Linked DNA regions of Homo sapiens: region 2 is linked to region 1. The links are contacts of gene promoters, found by promoter capture Hi-C in blood cells and fetal thymus (Javierre and others, 2016). All regions are on one chromosome and are shown on one strand. Each heading gives the region's core, a stretch centred on a gene start or on the middle of the fragment in contact. The rest is flanking DNA. Distances are from core to core; before and after follow the strand shown.

Evidence for each region. Contacts are between HindIII fragments. The CHiCAGO score rates a contact against its expected background, and 5 or more counts as called.
Region 2: a fragment that was not itself captured here is called in contact with the fragment with the promoter of MALT1 in region 1 in 1 of 17 cell types (total B cells); the score reaches 6.2 in total B cells.

The regions. Positions count from the first base shown.
Region 1 is chr18:58,670,110-58,675,255 of GRCh38, forward strand. It overlaps MALT1 (MALT1 paracaspase), which reads left to right and starts at 1,356. Exons shown (of 17, transcript NM_006785.4): 1 at 1,356-1,743. The coding sequence starts at 1,535. It overlaps MALT1-AS1 (MALT1 antisense RNA 1), which reads right to left and starts at 1,764. Exons shown (of 2, transcript NR_164150.1): 1 at 1,360-1,764; 2 at 1-699. LOC105372146 (a long non-coding RNA gene) reads right to left here. Exons shown (of 4, transcript XR_935537.3): 4 at 2,504-2,750. RefSeq lists an enhancer at 675-934 and a silencer at 1,095-1,884. The HindIII fragment of the contact is 13,202 bases long and covers 1-5,146 here.
Region 2 is chr18:59,065,864-59,070,935 of GRCh38, forward strand. It overlaps the pseudogene OACYLP. Among named protein-coding and RNA genes, the nearest start is that of SEC11C, 71 kb to the right of the region's middle. The HindIII fragment of the contact is 8,599 bases long and covers 1-5,072 here.

The sequences.
Region 1 (5,146 bases), core at 106-2,605:
ACCTGAAGCGGTTGGGAAAGGCTTGCCAAGTCAAACTGAGTATGAAACGGCACTTGTATGTGTAAGGGTAATAGCATTTACTGAGTCATCTACGATGTGCCAGTTACCGAGTTAAGTGCTTCACATACATCAACTCCTTTAATTCTGGCAACAACTCTATATAAACTGTATTGTCAGTCCTGTGTTAATAGATGAGGCAGAGAAATTAAGAAACTTATTCAAGCTCCTAACACTTGAATCGAGCAGATCTTTCATGCTCTTAGCCATCTCACTGCAGTCTGAATTCTTAACTTATGCTAGAGTGAAGTTTAATGACTGCTTGTGCTAGAATGTGGTGGAGACTGTATGGCGCACCTACCTCGCCAACATGTATAAGAATATAGGTATCCAAATTACTGGTCAGAAAATCCTGCGGCCTTGGGTGATGAAAAGCTAATGGCAACAGAAATTGGGCCAGGAAGCCTCGTGTAGGGAACTACCTGACTGGTCACATTTCGTAAGTTACTTCCTTTTTGTCCCAAACGAAGCCATAGTTTTCAAAGGGATAATGGCCTTGGATGTTGCTAAGATTGGCAGAGAGAGCTCAGGTGTCGTCCATTCCGGATCATTCCAGGGAAAGGCATCCTCTACAGGGTTGCCTGCTTTGATGACGGAGATTGCGGGCGGCAGTCTGACGCGGTGTAAACCAGATGATTCCTGCTAAAAACAATCATTTCCAAGATCTGATTAGCCCTAAATATGCCACAGCTCAGTTTGCAAAGTAGTAATTGTTTAAAAGTCTAGGCAAAGATTTTGGCCAATTCCAACTCAAGTATCCGGATCTCCAGCACTACTTCCCTCTAGCAATGCCATACACATCTAACCCTAAAACGAGGAAGCGTCCGCTGAGGTTGCCCACTGCAGGATGCTGGTGTGTCGCCGGGCACATGAAAGTCCCTGAGTCAGGGGAGAGCGCTCGCCGGGGACTGCGGGCGGGAGCCGGCGACTGAGAACCGCTTGCCCCGCTCTCTGGCGTGAGTACGCAGGCCTCCTCCCACGGTCTCAGGAAGCCCAGACGCCGCAGGCTTCCCCGCCGTAGAGGAGCTGCCGGGGCGTAATTCCTCCACCGCTTCCTCCTCCAGCTGCACCCACCCGTCCTTTCCTGCTCGGGAGGGCTGGGTTTGAAGCGCGCGCCACGGCCAGCCCGGGACCGCGGGGGAGGGCGAGGGAGGCGCGCAGCCGCACGCACGCAGTAGGCAGCCCCGCCCCGCCCCTCGAGGCCCAAGGTCCCGCCCCTCGAGGCTCCGTGCCCCGCCCCCCGGGTGCCCCGCCCCTTTGCGCGGCTGGCGCGGCCAGCAGGCCAGGCTCCCCTCGGCAAACCTGTCTAATTGGGGCGGGGAGCGGAGCTTCCTCCTCTGAGGGCCGTGCCGCGCTGCCAGATTTGTTCTTCCGCCCCTGCCTCCGCGGCTCGGAGGCGAGCGGAAGGTGCCCCGGGGCCGAGGCCCGTGACGGGGCGGGCGGGAGCCCCGGCAGTCCGGGGTCGCCGGCGAGGGCCATGTCGCTGTTGGGGGACCCGCTACAGGCCCTGCCGCCCTCGGCCGCCCCCACGGGGCCGCTGCTCGCCCCTCCGGCCGGCGCGACCCTCAACCGCCTGCGGGAGCCGCTGCTGCGGAGGCTCAGCGAGCTCCTGGATCAGGCGCCCGAGGGCCGGGGCTGGAGGAGACTGGCGGAGCTGGCGGGGAGTCGCGGGCGCCTCCGCCTCAGGTGAGCTCAGGGCCGCGGCAGGCCGGGCGCGCGGGTCGAGCGGGGTGGGCTGCGGTGGGGAGGTGGGGGCGCTGTCGGTGGGGCTGAGCGCGGCGGGGGCCGCCGGCGTGAGTGAGCGGAGGTGGGGAGGACTTCGGTCATTGAGGCGGAGCGGAACTCAGCAGCTCCCCGGAACGCCTGGGGTTTGAGAGCGGGGCCCAGGGCTCTGGAGGGTGGAGGCAAAAGTGGCCCAGCGGCTGCCTCGCTCCCTGTTCCCACCCCCGCCCCTGGTGAAAGGGAGAAGTCGAGGTTGACCCCGGAGGATAGTGAGAGAAGGAAAGCTGTCAGGGGACCCCTAGGATGGGGCAGTCATCCAGAGGACTTAAAATGCAAAAGAAAGGGATGTGGACACTGCTCTGGGAGACCTAAGGAAGGCTGGGAAGAAGCGCAGGCGAGGTGATGAATGCAGAGGGTGGGGTGCAGGAATTCATGAACATTTTGCAAGGTATTGGGAAAGACTGACGCCGAACTCATCATCTCCCTCCATCAAACCAGGTTACCACGTTCTCTTCTTGACTTCACCATGAACATGAAACTCGAAGTAAAACTATTTTCCTTGTTAGGTTTGGAATGGCTGTATTAGGGTTCCTGAAGTTTTGGTCTCGAGACTCCTTTACCCTCTTAAGAATTATTGAGGACCCCAGAGAGCTCTTATGTGGGTTAGAGATAATACATACATGTAATACATACTGATATTTACCACCTTTGAAATTAAAGCTAAGACATTTAAAAAATATTAATTTATTTAAAAAGAATAACCCATTATATGGTAACAGAAATAATACTTTCGTGGAAAAACAAATTTTCCAAAACAAAAAAGTCTATTAGAGAAGTGGCATTGGTTTTCATTTTGAAGATCTCTTTAATGTCTTGGCTTAATCACAGAGCTGGATTCGTTTATGTGCTTCTGCATTCAGTCTGTCGCACTATTACAGGTCACAGAACGCTGGAAACTGCAGTGTCCACTCCTGAAAGAATGAATGAAAAAGCTAAATAAAGTCTTAATATTGTTATGAAAAATCTTTATGACCTTGTGGACCCCGCGAAAGGGTCTCAGGAACTGCACTAGGGGTTCCCAGACCCCACTTAGAACCATTACTTTATACCATTGTTGTAACTTTGGCCTGCCTTTGAACCCCTTAGCAGTTTTTTGAACTTCTCAAATGACAAAGATTTGTCTTACAGTATAATTATTTGTACACATCTTTATAAATGCCTTAAGAACAAAAACTGTCTCTTAATATTCTGTTATGTATAGAGGTTAGTAAATACTTGATGAGAGGAAAGTCATTCATTCAAAATGGTATTTATTAAGTGCTTATTATTTGCTAGAAATTTTAGAAGATAAAAAACTAACAAATATTCAATTCCTAATCATAAGGGTTTATCCAGGAATGGACTATTATTTGGGGACCTTTACAATAACATATTAAATGCTGTGTTGGGTATGAATGATAATGGATTTTTATCTTTTATTGAGGACATGGTATGTACCACAAAATATACTAAATGTTTACATGCTGCTGCTGCTGCTTCATTCTTCTTTATTCTTCTTATTTTTGCATTATCTTTTTTTTTTCCGAGATGGAGTCTTGCTCTTTCGCCCAGGCTGGAGTGCAGTGGTGTGATCGTGGCTCACTACAACCTCCGCCTCCCAGGTTCAAGCAATTCTCCTGCCTCAGCCTCCTGAGTAGCTGGGATTACAGGCGTGCGCCACTACAGCCCGCTAATTTTTTTGTATTTTTAGTAAAGACGGGGTTTTGCTGTGTTAGCCAGGCTGGTCTTGACCTAAGGTGATCCAGCCGCCTCAGTCTTCCAAAGTACTGGGATTACAGGCATGAGCTACCCTGCCTGGCCACATTATTTTCTTAAACCCTCCTGACAACTCTTGTTTCAGAGTTTGGGATTGAGGCAAAGGATAATAGTGACTTGGGATTATTGCTTGTGCAAAGGAGTAATGATGTGAGGAGGGAATAACTAGCAAGGCCTAGCAGAGAAGTGGCATAATTTTTTTCTGTTCTAGGAAAAACACGTTGGGCTTTTGGATATGCAAAAAAAACAAATACAAAATATTGTTATGCTAGGTACATAAAATTTTGAATTTCTGGACTTACCATAATGTAAAAAATTGTCTTTGGGGGCAGATCTCCAGAGTATTACGGTGCTAACGAGTACTCTGGTTAGGGAAGGTTCTGGGCTTCCTGAAGAAAGCCAGGTATGGAGGACTCCTACATGGCCATGAAGGAGAGAGAAGAAAGTCAGCAAGGCCCTGCCAGGGAAGAAGCGTGGCTGCTGGAATCCAAAAGCAGCGGATACTTGATGTTGGGTGTTGTGTTTTCCTCGCCTGCCTTCAGTCAGTTTTTGTTAAAGGCTACAAAATGGTCTTAGCTTTGTTTGGGGGAACTAAAGGAAATATTTGAGGCCACTTTTCTGTGGAGTCACACAGAGAGAAGGGGACAGTTGCCTAACAAGAGGTGGCAAGCACAAAGGGCATGCAGTTGTGGAATCTGAGAATTTGGGGTGGGAAGTCTGATGAGAGGCAGATGAGTTTCACCTGTCTTTCAAGATGGTAAAGATTAGTTTTGAGGAGGTTGGCTGGGGTGAGAAGGGTTGGAGAATTTGGGAACGTTAAGCTCATCCCTATGGAGATCAGAAGAATTAAACGGACTTTTTTTCAAAAAACAGCACTGGGAGCTTGGGGGCTGGACAGTGAAGCAAGGTCAGCTGGGGATGCTTACTCTATTTAAGACAAAAAAGTTATTGTAAAGTGATTTCATGCTGTTGGGAGAAGATCTGTGATACTAGAAGGTCCTAAAGGTATTTTTTCTCTGGTGCCAAAGACAGGAATTATAGTGTGAGTGTCTAGTCCGTGTGGGTGACAAGTCCCACGAGGCTGTGAAGTGCTTTCTTCAGTCACTGGATCTGCAGCCCTAGAATCTCGAAATGTTGCCCATTCTGTTTCTTTTTCTTCTCTTCACTTTTTTTTCTGACACTTTACATCTTTCCTCAAACTGGGTGAAAATTTAATAATACAAATAAGTAAACCACAAGAAAAGAGCCCGTTCAAACTGTCTACAAGAGATTAGAAATAATTGTAAATGTTTTCATTGCTGATGACTCAGAGTAAATCCTTGTTGATAGCTTAGTTCCCCACAACCATGTACATTTGGGAATGTGCTATAGTCAGACCCGGCCCTGATTCCATTCAAGACTGACCTGGACACCCTTTGCTGTTAGTGTAGATAGACACAGACTCTGAGGGTCTTGCCCAAGCTATGTAAATTCTTTGGTGGCATGGAACATCTGAGCCCTAAGGATGGCAGACCTTCCAGGAGGTTCTAAATGCTGCCTAAAATTCTGTTAA
Region 2 (5,072 bases), core at 1,181-3,680, 400 kb after region 1:
AATTACTTTGTTTTGTTCTACAGTGAAACTGTGGTTTACCTTTTATAGCCTTCACTTGGGGGAAAAGCGTCTTTTGTCTGTAAGTCCATCTGTGTTTATTCACTTAATTACATAAAATACTTCTTGAATGCTTATTCTATGCCAGGTACTGTTCTAGAATCTGGGGATACAGCAATAGACAAGAAAAATCCTTCCCTTGCGAGAGATTACAGTAGGGTCGGGGGAAGTTTAAATATAGTGAATAAAGATAAAGCAGGGATTAGTGGGTAACTAACTGGACTAGGGGTACATTTGCAAAGATGTGGTATGAAAGCATTCTGGGCAGATGGAATGTGAAGGCAGAGGTCTCTAGACTGGAACGAGCTTAGTGGCTTGGAGGAAGAGCAAAATGACCAGTGAGATAGGAACCAAGGGTCAAGGGGGAGAGAGAGGTGGGAAGGGAACTCAGAGAGGAGGGTAGGACCCAGGTTAGGCAGAGCTTTCAAGGCCATGGGAAGAGTTTGGATTTTATTTTAAATGCCACATCACATGAAGTCTTAGTCCATTTCAGCTACTATAACAAAAATAAAGCCCCATAAATGAGGTGGCTTAAAAACAACAGAAATTTATATCTCACAGTTCTGGAGCTGGGAGGTCTAAGATCAAGGCACCAGCAGATTTAGTGTTTGGTGAAGGCCTGCTTTCTGGTTCTTAGCTGGAACTTTCTAGATGTGTCCTCACATGGCGGAAGGGTAGGGCTGTCTCTCTGGGGTCGCTTTTATAAGAGCACTGATACCATTCCTGAAGGCCCAGCCCTCGTGAACTAATTGCCTCTCCAAAGACTCCACCTCTTGATACTAACACCTTGGGGATTAGGATCTCAACATATGAATTTTGGGGGAATGTAAACACTCAGATCATAGCCCATGATTTGATTTGTGGATTTGTAAAATTTATTTTCAAATGGACAAATAATAACTGTATTTATGGGGTACAATGTGATGTTTTGGTATATGTATACCTAGTAGAAAGATGAAATCAAGTTAATTAACATAGGCATCACTTCACCAAGTTATCTCTTTTTTGTGGTAAGAATGTTAAGAATCTTTTCTTTTAGCCATTGAAAAATATCCAGTACATTATTATTAACTGTGGTCACTATGCAGTGCAATAGATCACTAAAACTTACTCCATCGGTTTAACTGAAACTTTGTACGCTTTGATCAATATCTCCCCCTTCCCCATTTCTCCCTGATATGTGATTTTAAAAGATTACTCTGGATGTGGTGTGGGGACTATAAGGTGGCAAGAACAAGAGCAGAGACCAACAGATCCACTGGGAAGCTACCATGGAGGCCCACGCAGGAGGTGATGGAAGATTCACGAGGGTGTTAGCCATGGAGGTGAGGAGCAATGGTCTGATTTGAGACATATTTTTGGAAGCACTCTATGGAGTCTGGAATGAAAGGAGTCTGGGAAGGCTCCAAAGATTTATCCTGAGCAAATTGTGATTCACTACTGAGCACTTTTAATGAGGCTTGTGCAAAGGAGAAACAGAAGTTATATTTTATATCTGTGGCTTAAAACAACAGAAATTTTTTTCTCTCACAGTTCTGGAGGCTAGCTGTTCAAAATCGAAGTGTCAGCAGGGTTGGTTCCATCTGGATTTTCTGAGGGAGAATCTGTCCCATCCCCTCTCCTAGCCTCTGGTAGCTGCTGGCAAGCCTTGGCATTCCTTGGCTCATGGACTCTTCACTCCAGTCTCTGTCTTCGTCATCACATGGTTCTCTTCCTTGTGTCTCTCCTCTGCATTTGTGTCTCCTTTTCTGTCTCTTATAAGGACATTTGTCATTGGGTTTAGGGTCCACCCTAATCCAGGATGATCTCATCTCTAGTTCTTTCTCTTAATGACATCTGCAAAGACCCTTATTCCAAATAAGGTTACATTCTGAGGTTCTGGGTGGACATATCTTTTGAAAGATCACTATGCAACTCACTAGAGATAGCAATAAGTCCTATTCAGAAAGGAAGTTTTCATTGCATTTAATTTTAATTAAGTTAAATAGCCACAAGTGGCTAGGGGCTATTGTCTGGGACAACACAGTTCTAGAATATATACCAAGTTACAGAATATTTGTCCTGAAAGGCACCTACAAATGCAAGCCTCTCACTGACAGAAGAGTTTGAGGCCTGGCAATGTTAAATGCCTTATCCCAACGCCCCCCTGTGGCTGCATCTTGATCCAGAACCCAGGTGAATATGAGGAATTTTTACCTTGTTTTATACATGCAATGTTTTATGCTCAGGGGCTGAAACCATGTATCTCTCTTGTGTTATCATAATTCTTGCAACAGAAAGGTGGTTTTTGGTTTGGTACATTGTCTTAAAATGATAACGCATAAAGACTTTCTTAGGAAAAGTTCACAGACTTAGGCACAGAATGCAATGGGAGCATCGATGGGATGATGGGCATCTTCACTGGCCCAGAGACAGGCTGTGGCTTCATGCATCAGTGCTTGTTCCCTCCAGGTCTGGTGAACCGTGTGCTTTCTTGGGACATCTGGAGTTTCCTGTCCAGCATCAGTTATGCTCGCTACTTGGTGCATCCGATTCTGATCATCCTTTACAATGGCCTTCAGGAAACACTTATTCACCACACTGACACCAACATGGTGAGTTAGCACGCAGCTCCTAGTTCTGTTACGGTAGGTTATGGTATCATAGCTTGTTCTCTTCTTGAGCAACAAGGCAACCTATTTGCTTTCGTGGAAGTCTTTTTTTTTTTTAAGAGCTTCATTGTTCTTTGCTTTATTTGTGGCAGAAAGAGGGAGGGCTTCAGCACAGGATAATATCTTTTATTTTATTTATTTTATTTTTAATATGTAGCACTGATTGTCCTACAGATGCATTTCATAGAGCTAGGATGGTACACTTTAGATCTGAACACAATAGGAATCCCAGAGTAAAACTGTGTTCACCCTGCCCACTTTCTCTCCAGTTCTATCTTTTCTCTGGACACCGTGTGCTGACCTTCGTCACTGGGCTGGCCCTGACGCTGTTCATTGAGAAACCATGTCAGGAACTGAAGCAGCACCTGCTGGGCCATGAATGTTCTGGTTAAAACACAAAAGAATGGATGGGCCTTGTTGGTAATGACGAGCAAAGATGAGGTGGCCTTATCTAGGTGATGAATGCTTGTATTCCCGAGAAGGGGTGTGAATCTCATTTTGTGAAAGTTTAATATATACATTTTCTTTGCATTTAATATGTGAAAGAGTTCTTAGTTCTTATGATGTAAGAGAGTTCTCTAAATTTTTAGTAGCACAATAATAAACTTCTGTTGTACCATTTTAGCAAACAACAACAACAACAACAACAGAAACTGGATTTCTTTTTGGTTTAAACTCCATTTGATTGTCTGTATCAATGATCACAGGAAATGATTAAATGTCGTGCATTTAATGTAATTTGGGTTATGAAGCTCATTTGGGTTATGCTCTTCACTTTTCTCTGTAAAATTACAACATGCAGTATGCACTTTCCCACGACAGAATTGTTTATGTGTTATTATGGCGTCTTTGCAGACTTGTAACTTTATCCTAGAACCTCAGTGGTATGACCCGCTAGCATGCATACTTCATGGGTCTGTCATTATAGGGCCTTTCAAATATCACCTATTCTTCACCATAGTCCCTGTTTTGGACTGAATTGTATCCCCTCCCCCAAAAGCTCTGTTGAAGTCCTAACTCCCATTCCCTCAGAATGTGGCCTTATTTGGAGCCAGGGTCTTTATAGAGATAATGAAGTCCAACGAGGTCACTGGGGATGGAGATTCTAATCCAGTATGACTGGTGTCCTTATAATAAGCAGAAGTTTGGTCACGGAGACAGGCATACACACAGGGAAGACGATGTGAAGACCCAGGGAGAAGACAGTCATGTGCAAACCCAGGAACACCAAGGCAAACCCCAGAAACCGGGGGAGGTAAGGACAGAGTCTGCCCTGGAGCTGCCCGAGAAAGCATGGCCCCGTGGGACACCTCGATTTTGGACTTCTGGCCTCCAGAACTGTGAGATAATTCATGTCTGTTGTTTCAAGCCACCCAGTTTTTGGTACTTTGTCACAGCAGCCCTAGATAGATGGATATCCCTATGCACCAACATAGGGCCTCAACAAAAACTAACAGAGAAGGAAGAGACCTCAGCCAGTGGTTTCCAGCCCAACCCCCTCAATTTGCAGCGATGAGACCTAGAGATGAGGAGAGACTCGCAAGGCCAAACAGAGATGCTAGGATCCAGGCTCTCGGATGTGTGTTTTTTCTAGGTGTATAATTATGCATTAACTGTCTACAGTTATGGATTAATTAAGTCCATTCCATCGCTTATAATAAAGCTCTTTGTGTACTTACTCATTAAAGTATTAACAACCGCAGGCTACAAGGTCCTTATTAGCGTGGGATGCGCCACATCTGAGGATGCTCTTTGCTGTCCAGTGCGTTTGCAAAGATGACCAATGTGGGTGGGGAGGGGAAGGCTGAACGTTTCACACACTCTGATGGCCACGGACAGCTAACCTTGGCCTTGCCAGCCAGCCACGGGGATCATCTCCCTGAGGATGATGAGATGAGAGACCTCATCTCCCTGAGGTCTGGTCCCTCTGCTGAAGAAGCCAACCTGAGGGAGTGGGGCGCCAAGGCTCAACAGCCGCGCTGTGAGAAGGCAGCCTAATTGGCTTTTCAGTGAACGCCGAAGTTCATCGAGTTCCTCGGGAGCCCCCTGGTGGCTTCTTTGGCACCTGAACCCTCTCACTTCGTTAGGCCTCCAAGGAGCTGTTGAGGACCAGTGGCATTTTCAGGGTAACACTGCCACATGGGTGGACTTCGGTGGGAGATGACTCACATGCCAACATCGTTCTGCAGCCAAATTGCCAAATGCTTCCAGTTATGAGGCCAGAAATCTGGGACCCGTGGAAGTAACTAGCTAATGACTGACACAGCATTGGAAAGACTTTTTTATAAGGGAAAAAACCCAACCCTCCTGCTGTTGTAATTTTATATAACATAAGGCAGGGTTAGAGAAATCCAGTTTTGTTCT